Linked DNA regions of Homo sapiens: all the other regions are linked to region 3. Evidence: promoter capture Hi-C in 16 types of primary human blood cells and fetal thymus (Javierre and others, 2016). All regions are on one chromosome and are shown on one strand. The core of a region is centred on a gene start or on the middle of the fragment in contact, and the rest is flanking DNA. Distances in the headings are between cores, read along the strand shown.

Region 1 (3,735 bases), core at 958-3,457, 1.0 Mb after region 3:
CTGAGTAGTTAGAAAGATTAAACAAGATACTGTATTGTAAAGCATTTTGTAAACTTCCTGGCACATTGGCACATAATAAGTGCTTAATAAGGGTCACCTGTGATTACTAATTTTATTCAAAATCATGTCATTGTGGCTGGTGTCATTTGAGCTGCTTCCCAGAGACTGAGCGATTCCTGTACATACCTAAAGTTACACCTTCAAGATGCTGCAGCTTGGCTCACTCACTCATTTAATAAGCATTTAGGAGTTCCTGCTAGATGCTATGCACTGTGCTAGGCTCCAGTCTCAATTCATTCTCACACCACATTCACTGGAAGCACAACTCAGGTATCCCCTCCTCTGGGAAGCCCTTCTAGGACCCTAAGCCGACTCACTACTATCTGGGCACTTATCTCTCTGTGTGACTGGGTTTGGACATCACTAGTATTCAAGGAAAAGACATTATCCTGCCCCTCTGCCACCTTTGTTCATTTCAGTTCAGTATAATCGATACTTCTCTCTGTGCCTATAATACAGTATGGAGGTGCTCAATAATCTTAAATGAGTTGACTGAGCATGTGTTTGTTTTCACAGGAAGATTTCCGTTTCTTTTGCAAGCTATTTAATTTGCAAAAGTAAGCAAGATGTGCACAAAATAGTTTTGAGACATCTGGAAACAAAACAAGGTTGCCTCATCATTAATCTTGTTTTTGTGTGATAACTTTACTTTTTCTCATTTTATGACAACTGAAATTCTCTATTATACTGCCAGACCTCATTCTGCAAGCTTCTCTCCTGTGCTAATAAAAAATATTATGGCCACATCGAGAAGTCCTTAGGGAATGTGTTCTGCATCAGGAAAAGTAATTAAGCTCTGGGGTCCTAAAGGAGCCTGGGAAAGTCTATCCAGAAACTATGGGGTTAGGATGTATTATCTATTGAAAAACAGAACCGGACTTTGCAAGTTTTACAATATCTTGGCTTATTAAAGCCACTAACTGAGAATTAAAATTTCTGGATTGTTACTTTTACAACAGCAGTCAAGTGTCGGAAAATATCCTGACCAGTCAGTAAGGTATACAAATAGAGAAGGCAAGGAGTAGCTGTGAGTAAAGCGCCAACTACATTTGCTGAGTACCTGGGAATTTACGAGTTAGCTTTTGCTATCATTATCCGTCTCGCTAAAGCAACCCTATGAGGTAGGTGGGAAGCTGGATGCCGTCCTCTTTTGACAGCCAACACTGAAGAACAGCTGGGGCTGGAAACTAGATCTGTCAGACATAGTAACTGCTTCTATCACTCTCACCACCCTCCCATGCTCTTGAGAGTGCCTTCGCTTTTGTGGGTGTCTTCAGAAAAGCATGCGGATCTCTGTATAGGTTTTACTCAAGTGTTCCTCTCTGTGGAGGGTGACCTGGGCTACATGAACATGGGCACCTCAGGATCGGCAGCTTTCCATGAATTCCTATGGTAAGGGGTTCAGCTTATCCTTCATGTGGGTGAAGATGTATGATTTCATTGAACATTGGCAGTTACAGCCAAGTACAAGTCCTGCCTTCAGGATCCAGCAGGGAAGAATGACATTAAACATGTCACCTTGGAGAAATGTTGCATTCACCTTCCGGGTAATGACCCAGCCACCCAGGGACTCCTCTGAAATATCCAATCCTCTAAGTTTAAACACGTTTCAGAATTAATCCATCTGAATTCTTATCGCTGTAGATGCAAGGAGAAGGAGTTATGGCAGGTCTGAAACTATTAGCGGCCAAGCTCCCTAGCAGAAGCAACCTCTCCCTACACCCCATTATCCGTGCACAGCTCCTTATCAGCGGAGGAACAACTTTACTGTCACCATATTTTCTACTTGGAAAAAAAAAAGAAACCTCAGCAGGCCCAATCCGAAGGCTATGAAATTTCAAAGAAACAGAGCTAAGAGGCGAGAAACTAGCCCTTTGTGTTAAAAAGATGGAAATGCTCCAAGCGCCTTTCCAGTCTGCTTTCTGTTTACAGGCCTTGCGTGAGCGCGGGAGGCTGGGCCTCATCTCTGGCTCTCCCCAGCCAGGACCCCTTACTCAAAACCCTCCATCTCGGCAAGAACCCTCATTCCCAAGTTAGTTGGATTCCAAGTCCATAAACCGGGTCAAAAGAATACAGTAATTTCCTACTGGAGCTCTAAGTGGTGGTTTTCACGGAGGACTCGGCACCATCCTCCCACCTGCCTCCTCCCATCGAACATTCCTTTTTAAGAAAAACACACACCAGGCTCCGGGAAGCTGACGTAAACATCCTGAGGAAATAACCACTGTAAGTGGCTTCTAAACCCATTTCCCCAAGGAAATAATCAGCACCTCTTTCCCAAGACAGCTCCAGGTAAGCAAGCGGTGAAGGGAGCTGCACCACCGCGTTCTCAAAAGTAAAGGCGCTTGCGGAACTGTCTACTGATTTGTAAGCGCGCGCCCATCCACTGTCGCATTTAATCTTCCGAACGACCCACGAGGTGGTAAAGGCGGGGATTATTTTCTTCATTTTACGGGTGAGAAACCGAGGCCCACAGCGCTCGTTCCTGTAGCCGGGGTCAGGCAGGGCACACCTAGGGGAGCCTCTGCCTTCGAGCCCCGGGACCGCCCCGCGGCACCACGAGATCTCCCCAGTCAGCCCGTGTGCGGCTGCGGCCGCATGGCCTCATTGTTTTGGGAAGACGTCCCTCTGTGAGGATCTTGGGCGACTCTATGAACCGCGGGCCCAGCCGCTCTGCGGAACGATCCGCAGCGGGACGCAAAGGGCGCGGCGAGCCCGGCGGCTCCCGGAACAAAGGACAGCAGAGCGCGCGGGGCCCGAAGGGGCGTCCGCCCTAGTGGGCGGCGGAGGGGGATGCGCGCGGAGAGGACCAGCGCGCACCGCCCCGGCCCGCCCCTCAAATCCTCCTTCCTTCTCTCTCGCACTCGGAGACGGTCCCTGGGAGATCCGGGAGGGGGCGCAGCTCGCCGTCCTCGCCGGCAAGTGCCGTCGCAACCTCCCTCTGCCGCCACCCCCACCCCGAGAAGCGCACAAAGAGCGGCCGGGCAGGGAGCGCTCACCTCCCGTCGGGGCGGGGCCGCGGGCGGGGCCGGCGCGCGCTCCGCAGCGCCCGCCTTAAAGGGCCCGCCCGCTCCTCGCGCGCACTGCGCATGCTCGGCCGCGGGGCACGGAGGGGAGGGATGGGAACAGCGGGCGCGCACGCCCGCGCCGCCCGCTGGCGCTGTGGCCTGCGTCCCCGCGGTGGCGGCGCGGCGCTCGTGCGCGTGTCAGAACCCGCAGGGTCTCGGCCCGGGCGCCGGGCGTGTGCTGGACACTGGTGCCATGCATTCCAGAGGTCGCCAGCGGCCGGGCGGGCCGAGCTCGCGCGGCAGCCAGCTTTTAGCTTTCCCATCCTCAGTTTCAGGGCCAGTTGGGCGAAGTGCTGCCCAAGGAGACAGAAATGCAGGCGCGGGCGCGCGCGCGCGCGGTTGCCAGTGTGGGCGGGCGTGTGCTTTTGTGTCTCGTGCGCTCCCGCGCAGGTGGACAACCCGCGCCGGGAGTCACTCTGCCCGTGCGCCCCAAGACCTGGAGTCCCGTTTTCCGTGTCGGAGGGCTCGGGTCGCCCTTTTGGGCGGACTACAGACTCTTCTCACAGAGGAAGCTTTGGCTCCACGGATGGTTTATTTGGAGCCACTAACGGGACTTCCTGAGGACCGCTCTTTTAGAGCCCGGCTCCAGGCATCAGAGTTGGGCGCG
Region 2 (3,293 bases), core at 179-2,678, 1.8 Mb after region 3:
GGAGGGCAGCTGCAGAACGGCCTTGTCTCCAGGAGACGGTGCTGTTGGGGGCAGGTACAGGAGGGAGCCCTGTATTCTGCTGAGGCACACAGGGCATGAAAGATGACCTGTGGGAAGTTCCTTGCCTGGGCTTCCCTGAGGACACCCCAGTTCCTTCTCCAGACGCCTTACTCGGGAATATTCCCTGACCCTATGTGGCTCTGCCAAGGGCATCACTGGGACAGACCTGCTGTGGCAACTGCACTCCTTTTCTGGGCCTCCAGGAGGAAGGCAAAATGACTGGCTTCTCAGCTGGCTGCTCCTGATTTGCCCTTCTGGACTCATAGGTCTCAGGCCCAAGGGAAAATGAAATATGGGCTTAAAAGAGGGGGTGGGAGAACAGATCCATCTGATAACTCCATCATGTGTTGCTAACCAGCCACATCCTGCCAGCGCTCTGCAAAACTGCACTTCCTTTTTAGTAACCTGGCTTCCTCCTCCCTCCTTCACTTTCACCCCTCCTACTCAACATCCCGTCTCCACCGCTACCCCTCCTGAAGCTTGCCAACCCTCACTGTAGATTGTTTTAGGGGATTTCCAGAGGCCCCCTCCCACCTGCCCACGGTGTGCTTAAGGGAAGGGCCAGGGCCCCTGCAGGGCCATTCCGTGATGGGGGAGACAGCTTCTGGGTAAGGATGGGAAACTCAGCATTGCATAGTGGGTAACTGTGACCCACTAGCAATGTGAACTTGAGCGAGTTTCTCAGTTCCCTCTTTGCACAACTGGGACTCTCACCATCAGGTGGTTGTAAGATTTAATTGACACAATGTACATGAAAGTACTCAGTGTGGTTAGCCTGCGCATAAAATGGTTCTAGACACAGCAGCTGTCTGTCAGTCAGTCTGCCTTTTATGCAAGGGGTGGAAAGGAGGGCTTTAAGGGGCCTGATGGGGAAAGATCATGGCAATGAATGCTAATATGCCTGAGATGCTGTCAGGTACTTGCCTTAAGTGGTTACCTTTAATCCTCACAATAGCCCTTGGAAGGAGCCACTCCTCCCGGGTTTAAGCAATTCCCTGCCTCAGCCTCCTGCGTAGCTGGGATTACAGGCACCTGCCACCATACCCGGCTAATTTTTGTATTGTTAGTAGAGACAGGGTTTCACCATCTTGGCCAGGCTGGTCTTGAACTCCTGAGCTCATGATCCACCCGGCTCAGCCTCCCAAAGTGCTGGGATTACAGGCATGAGCCACCGTGCCAGGCCCCTTTTTAGTTATTTAAGCCACTATTCTCCCTACAAGCAGGACACTCAAAGATCCACATGCAAAGACTGAGACCCTGCAGGGGCCCTGGTATTTTTCCTTCATGGTGAGTGAAAAATGACACAAGAAAGGAACCTTAAATTCCAGTGTGTTATGGGTGGGAACCCAGATGCCAGCAAGCAGGACTGGGACTTCAATTATCTGTCAACCTTCAAACCCATCTTTTCATGGTCAGTCCTCAGCTGAGTCCTAGGCAACAGTTTCTCTCTGGTGGAGCAGGAGAAACTTTCATTCTGGCCCTGCTAACACTAACTTGCTAATTTGCCCATGCTCAAGATTTGAGTCTGGTCCTGGAAACACTCAACCTGTGGACCCATCCTCTTACCTGGCCACAGGTGGGTGGGGTGTGCCCAGAAGAGCATGAGGAGTTCTCTCTCTCTTCCAGACTCTTCTGAGGGTCACTGTCACTTTTAAAGTATTTTCTGGGTGGAGGCTTGGGCTTGGAGGACATAGGCTTTCTCACCAAAATCTCAAAGGATTTCTTCAGTCTCAGCGGCGGGTGGCTGTCCCGGCTCTCTGGGAGGGGTGGGCTCTCCTGGGGCAGCCTGGAGGATGCTATAGAAAGCACCACTGGCTCCCGTGCCAGAGGCAAGCTGGGGCTGTGTGTGCTGATGTCCACGTCAGAGGACGGCTTCTCAGCACTGCCACTCCCAGGACTTCCCCCTGGGGACCCAGACATGTAGCTGCTGTCACTGCTGGAGCGGATCATGACCTTCTGAGCCCTGCGATGCGGGGGTGCTGAGTTCTTCTCTCGTTCCTTCTCCAAGGTGGGCCGCCCGTGCCAACTGCTTTCCAGCCTTTTGACACCTGTGTGGGAAGCACAAGAGAATCTTCACAGCTGAGCTTCAGAAAACAGAAATACCCCCTGGCCTCACCTGTGACTGCCACGGGCAGCACACTGCACATCGGCCATCTGCTTCTTATCTGAAGTCACTGTGGATCTGGAGTATGGCAGTCTTGGTGTTGGTCCCTGGCGAGCTGTATGACTTTGGGTTGGGAAAATCATTCAAGCTTTCTGAGCCTATGACTGATGTATATGGAGATATGCCACCCAGATCACCCATCGAGGAAGGGCTTGGTGTCCCAGCTGTGGGGAGTGCTGCTGGCAGACTACTTTCAGCTGTGGGTCCCTCCAGGGGCTGCCACAGCTGCAGACAGCTGCCTTGTCCAATGGGGCAGCCCATCTCCAGGGACTGCTGGAGATAGGGTTACAGAGGCCCAGCTATGTTGGCCAACATAGGACAACTCTAATGGGGACTTTGGCTGCAGAGCTCCAGGGCTTGGCTGAAGCTGTTGGGTGTGCACCTCAGCTCCGTCCTCCCTCTGTCTACCCTGCCTGCTCCCCTCCCTGCCACAGGTAGTGAACCCCAGGACACTGCCTGCAGACCAAACTCCATCTCAGAGTCAGCTTCCTGGGGGACCCAACTCCATTTCTGCATCTGTAAAATGAGGATGATAATTTTAAAGTCACTGGGGTTATTTTGAGGCTCAATAACAAAGACAGAGAAACTACCTGTCAAGGCACTTTGAATCTTACACGAAGAAGTCACTATTTCTTTCCAGTTGAGGGTGAGGTGAGGGCAGAAAGCCGCTATTTCTTAGCCACTGCACCTTCCTCCCTCCCTCCCCATTAGCCCTTCCTGGTTCTCAGTACCCCCTACCCTAGTTTCCAGCACTAGGGCTACCCACACATCCTTGAGAGGCCCTTCTCTCTAGTGGTAAGCTGTCAAGGGTGCCCCTTTCCTAAAATCACAGCTTGAAGGGGTGGGAGAGGATTGAAATCTAGTCTCTTGCTCAAATTCCAGCTCATTCTGAGAGACCAAGAAAGCCAGAGGAGCCCCATGAGAGAGAACCAAGGCCAGCCAAGCTCCTAACTCACTTTCTCTTTAAATAAAAAGTTTTCTTTTTTTTTTTCCTGATCATGAAATAATGCATCCTCCTTAGAGAAAACTCAGCCACAAGGAGGAAGGAATGAAAGTAAAAATTCACTTC
Region 3 (3,694 bases), core at 427-2,926:
TCCAGCCTGGGCAACAGAGCAAGACTCCGTCTCAAAAAAAAATTTTTTTAGAGACAAGTGGAGAAACAAATATTAACTGTACATTAAATATTATACATAGGACCAGGCCTGGTGGCTCATGCCTGTAATCCCAGCACTTTGGGAGGCCGAGGCGGGTAGATCACGAGGTCAGGACTTGGAGAGGAGCCTGGCCAATATGGTGAAACCCCGTCTCTACTAAAAATACAAATAATTAGCTGGATGTGGTGACACGCACCTGTAACCCCAGCTACTCGGGAGGCTGAGGAGGAGAATCGCTTGAGCCCGGAAGGCAGACTTCATGCCATTGCACTCCAGCTTTGGCAACAGAGCGAGACTCCGTCTCAAAAAAAAAAAAATCATATATAGATGATTTGATGATATGGTTAATTTTGTTAGGTGTGATAATGGTATCATTAGTAGCATGATGTCCCTTTGTCTTTAGGAATTGCCGGCTGGCAATGGGGAAGGGGTTGTGCATCCACTATTTCAGCCCCTACTACTTTAAGTCTCTTCCCAAGCACGTTCCTCTCCCAAAGAAGTTACCATTCTAAATGCCTAACAGCTGGAAGTCCCCTCTGGTGGTTTCACAAGTGGAGTGATTTTACAGGAGAAACCCAGGTTTGGGGTTTACTATTTACTTGACGGCATTTGTAATCTGTAAGGCTCTTCCTGCAAAGAACAGGTGTTTCCAACTATACGTGCCTGGTCAAGGACTATTTCTTGGGTTTTCTACGTTCTGCTTTTGACAGCTGACTTAACTCAGGGCCTGCCTCACTGAAGGGAGAAAAAGGAAGGCCTCGGTCCCCCAATCATGATGACCGGGTTGTAAATACTGCCTGGGAAGGGATAATACAGCCTTTTCCATTGTGTGTGTGTTTTAGTTTTTAATTTTTTAAATTTCAAGCTTAGGCAGTGGTTCAGTGCAAGGACTGAAAAGCGCTACAAGAGAAGGTGGGCAAGCACGAGGGGTTTCAAATACAGGGGTGGAAGCAGTAGAAGGAAATGTCTCTTAGGCCCAGAGGACGGAACCAAAGGGTCAATTAGAAGGGAAAGGGACCTGCGGACCTGGGGAGAGGTCACTGGGGTTCTAAGCCTTCCACCTCTGCTTCCGGAATTTCCACGGGTTTCGCGGCCTTCTGGAGCGGCGACTTGGCCACGCTTGGGGTACAGGGTTGTGGGAAGTCATGTCATCCCCTCCCTCACGTGTTCCCTTGGCCATACTTTCCTGCCCCTCCACTTCCAGGCAAAACACTCCTCGGGACAGGCCTTGGGACATGTCCCAGATACACAATGGGGGCGCTGGACTTGGTGATAAGGGGCCTGCAGGAAGAAAAAGGCAGCCGTGAGAGCCGCCTGCAGATCCACGATGCATCTTAAAATTACAAATTCTCAGGCCCTACCCCAGACCTACTGAGTCAGAATACCCAGGGCACTGAGCCAGGGGGTGGGTGCCCGTAGGCCCGGCAGCACCCAGCCTGCAGAAGCTCCACCTCCGGGAGCGCTGAGCTAGGACCAGCTCCCCACGCCCCTGCCCTGGGGCTGCCGGGAGTCCAGTCCTGTTACACCTCCCGCGGCCGCGCACAGCGGCAACCCGGGCGTGCGGGGGCGCGCGCGGTCAGGGAGGGGCCTGCGGAGGCGCGAGGCCCCCGGAAGCGCCTTTCCCGGAAGGCAGGGAGGCAGCGCCGGCCTCCGGAGGCGGCCTGGGCGATGGCGGCGGAGTTTTGTCCATAACGTGGGCAACCGCGCAGCTGGAGGATGGCCTCACTCGGGCCTGCCGCAGCTGGGGAGCAGGCGTCGGGGGCTGAGGCGGAGCCGGGCCCCGCGGGGCCGCCGCCGCCGCCCTCACCGTCCTCTCTGGGGCCCCTGCTCCCCCTGCAGCGGGAACCTCTCTACAACTGGCAGGCGACCAAGGCGTCGCTGAAGGAGCGCTTCGCCTTCCTCTTCAACTCGGAGCTGCTGAGCGATGTGCGCTTCGTACTGGGCAAGGGTCGCGGCGCCGCCGCCGCTGGGGGCCCGCAGCGCATCCCCGCCCACCGCTTCGTGCTGGCGGCCGGCAGCGCCGTCTTTGACGCCATGTTCAACGGCGGCATGGCCACCACGTCGGCCGAGATCGAGCTGCCGGACGTGGAGCCCGCAGCCTTCCTGGCGCTGCTGAGGTGAGCGGCAGCGCGGGCCGGGCCGGGCCGGGCCGGGCCGGGCCGGGCCGGGCTGGGAGATCCCCGGGGCCCGGCCTACCCGGACTCCCGGATGACCTTGGGCTGGGCTCTTCTGACCCGCCCGGGGCCTCAGTTTCCTCCCGAGCCGTTGATGCTCCGGAGGGTCGAAATCGAAATCTGTGAACCAGGACGGCTCAGTCGCCAACTAAACGTTAGTGTCTTCATTAGGCAAGCGTGCGTTTTACCATTGAAAGGCGTTTCGCATTCCAATTATGGATTGTCGCTCAGACTTCAGAATTAGACAAGTGGCAAGGATAGAGGGGCAGATCAGGTTGTCCTGATTGCCCATTTGCGAAGTTTTATGTTTTTGTTTGGGGGAAGAGAGTAGTTGAAAAATCTTGCAGGACTGATGTTTTGGGGTTATTGTCACCCCCTTCCCCCCGCTTTTTTTGAGACAAGGTCTTGCTCTGTTGCCCAGGCTGGAATGCTGTAGCGCGATCATGGCTCACTGCAGCCTCGACCTCTCCGGGCTCAGGTGATGCTCCGACCTCAGCCTCCCGAGTATTTGGGACTACAGGCACGCGCCACCACGCCCGGCTAATTTTTTTTATTTTTATTTTTGGTAGAGAGAGGGTTTCACTATGTTGCCCAGGCTGGTCTCGGACTCCTGGGGTCAAGCGATCCGTCCACCTCGGCCTCCCAAAGTGCTGGGATTACAGGCGTGAACCACCGCGCCTGGCCACTTTTTTGTTTTTGTTTTTGTTTTTCATTAACGTATTAGTTGTCAAGACCCAGGAAAGTAAATACGAAAACAGACAAGTGAGGCTTTACCTGCTTTGTGTTTCTACACACAAGGTCACATTTGCTTATAAATGAATCCCTCCCTTGATGTTAGAATTTGCTTGTTGGTTATTTGAGGATAGTAGATTGACATCTAATGAAAAGGTGATTGTTTGGCATTACTAGCTTTTAATCACAGCCATCCTGTTAGGGAGGCGTAAGAATTGTTTACCCCAATTTCACAAATGGGACTGAGGCCCAGAAGAGTCAAGTATCTTGCCCAAGGTAACAAACAGCTAACTCACACTGAAGACCATGTCTGTTTCATTATACTAAGATGGTTTTAAATAGCTGCCTGAGTAGAACGTGTTGTTATTAAAATGGCAGAGTCTTGGGTAGTACTGAAGCAAAAACAGGCAGGTCAGTGGGACAGAATTAGATACAAAGGTTCACAGTTGAATCAGAAAGATGAACAAGAAAATGAATGTAAAGTTCACACAACTAGAAACAAATAATAAGATTCCATTGACGAATGGATAAAGGACAGGATAGATAACTTAGAGAAAGAAAAAATACAACTAATTAACGAATGTTTTACCTGGCTGGTAATTAGGAAGTGCAAATTAAAAGACAGTGGTATTTTTTCCTTCCATTAATCCCACCAAAAAATTTAAAGGTAACATCTGAACAGCATTTTCTGACAAAGATGGTGGTAAAAACCCTTTTGGAAAACAGTT

The links. Contacts are between HindIII fragments. The CHiCAGO score rates a contact against its expected background, and 5 or more counts as called.
Region 1: a contact is called between a fragment that was not itself captured here and the fragment with the promoter of BTBD1 in region 3, in 4 of 17 cell types (fetal thymus, naive CD8 T cells, naive CD4 T cells and 1 more). The highest score is 9.1, in fetal thymus.
Region 2: a contact is called between a fragment that was not itself captured here and the fragment with the promoter of BTBD1 in region 3, in 1 of 17 cell types (activated CD4 T cells). The highest score is 5.9, in activated CD4 T cells.

What each region holds. Positions count from the first base shown.
Region 1 is chr15:82,046,501-82,050,235 of GRCh38, reverse strand. No RefSeq gene overlaps it. Among named protein-coding and RNA genes, the nearest start is that of MEX3B, 2.4 kb to the right of the region's middle. RefSeq lists a silencer at 2,969-3,288 and an enhancer at 2,969-3,735. The HindIII fragment of the contact is 2,871 bases long and covers 772-3,642 here.
Region 2 is chr15:81,291,371-81,294,663 of GRCh38, reverse strand. It overlaps IL16 (interleukin 16), which reads right to left. Exons shown (of 19, transcript NM_172217.5): 12 at 1,627-2,108. Among named protein-coding and RNA genes, the nearest start is that of STARD5, 31 kb to the left of the region's middle. RefSeq lists enhancers at 333-392, 423-512, 692-1,210, 2,023-2,152. The HindIII fragment of the contact is 1,773 bases long and covers 542-2,314 here.
Region 3 is chr15:83,065,234-83,068,927 of GRCh38, reverse strand. It overlaps BTBD1 (BTB domain containing 1), which reads left to right and starts at 1,676. Exons shown (of 8, transcript NM_025238.4): 1 at 1,676-2,177. The coding sequence starts at 1,777. MIR4515 (microRNA 4515) reads right to left here and starts at 1,593; the gene lies at 1,513-1,593. RefSeq lists enhancers at 1,229-1,278, 1,289-1,408 and silencers at 1,469-1,948, 2,189-2,358. The HindIII fragment of the contact is 13,987 bases long and covers 928-3,694 here.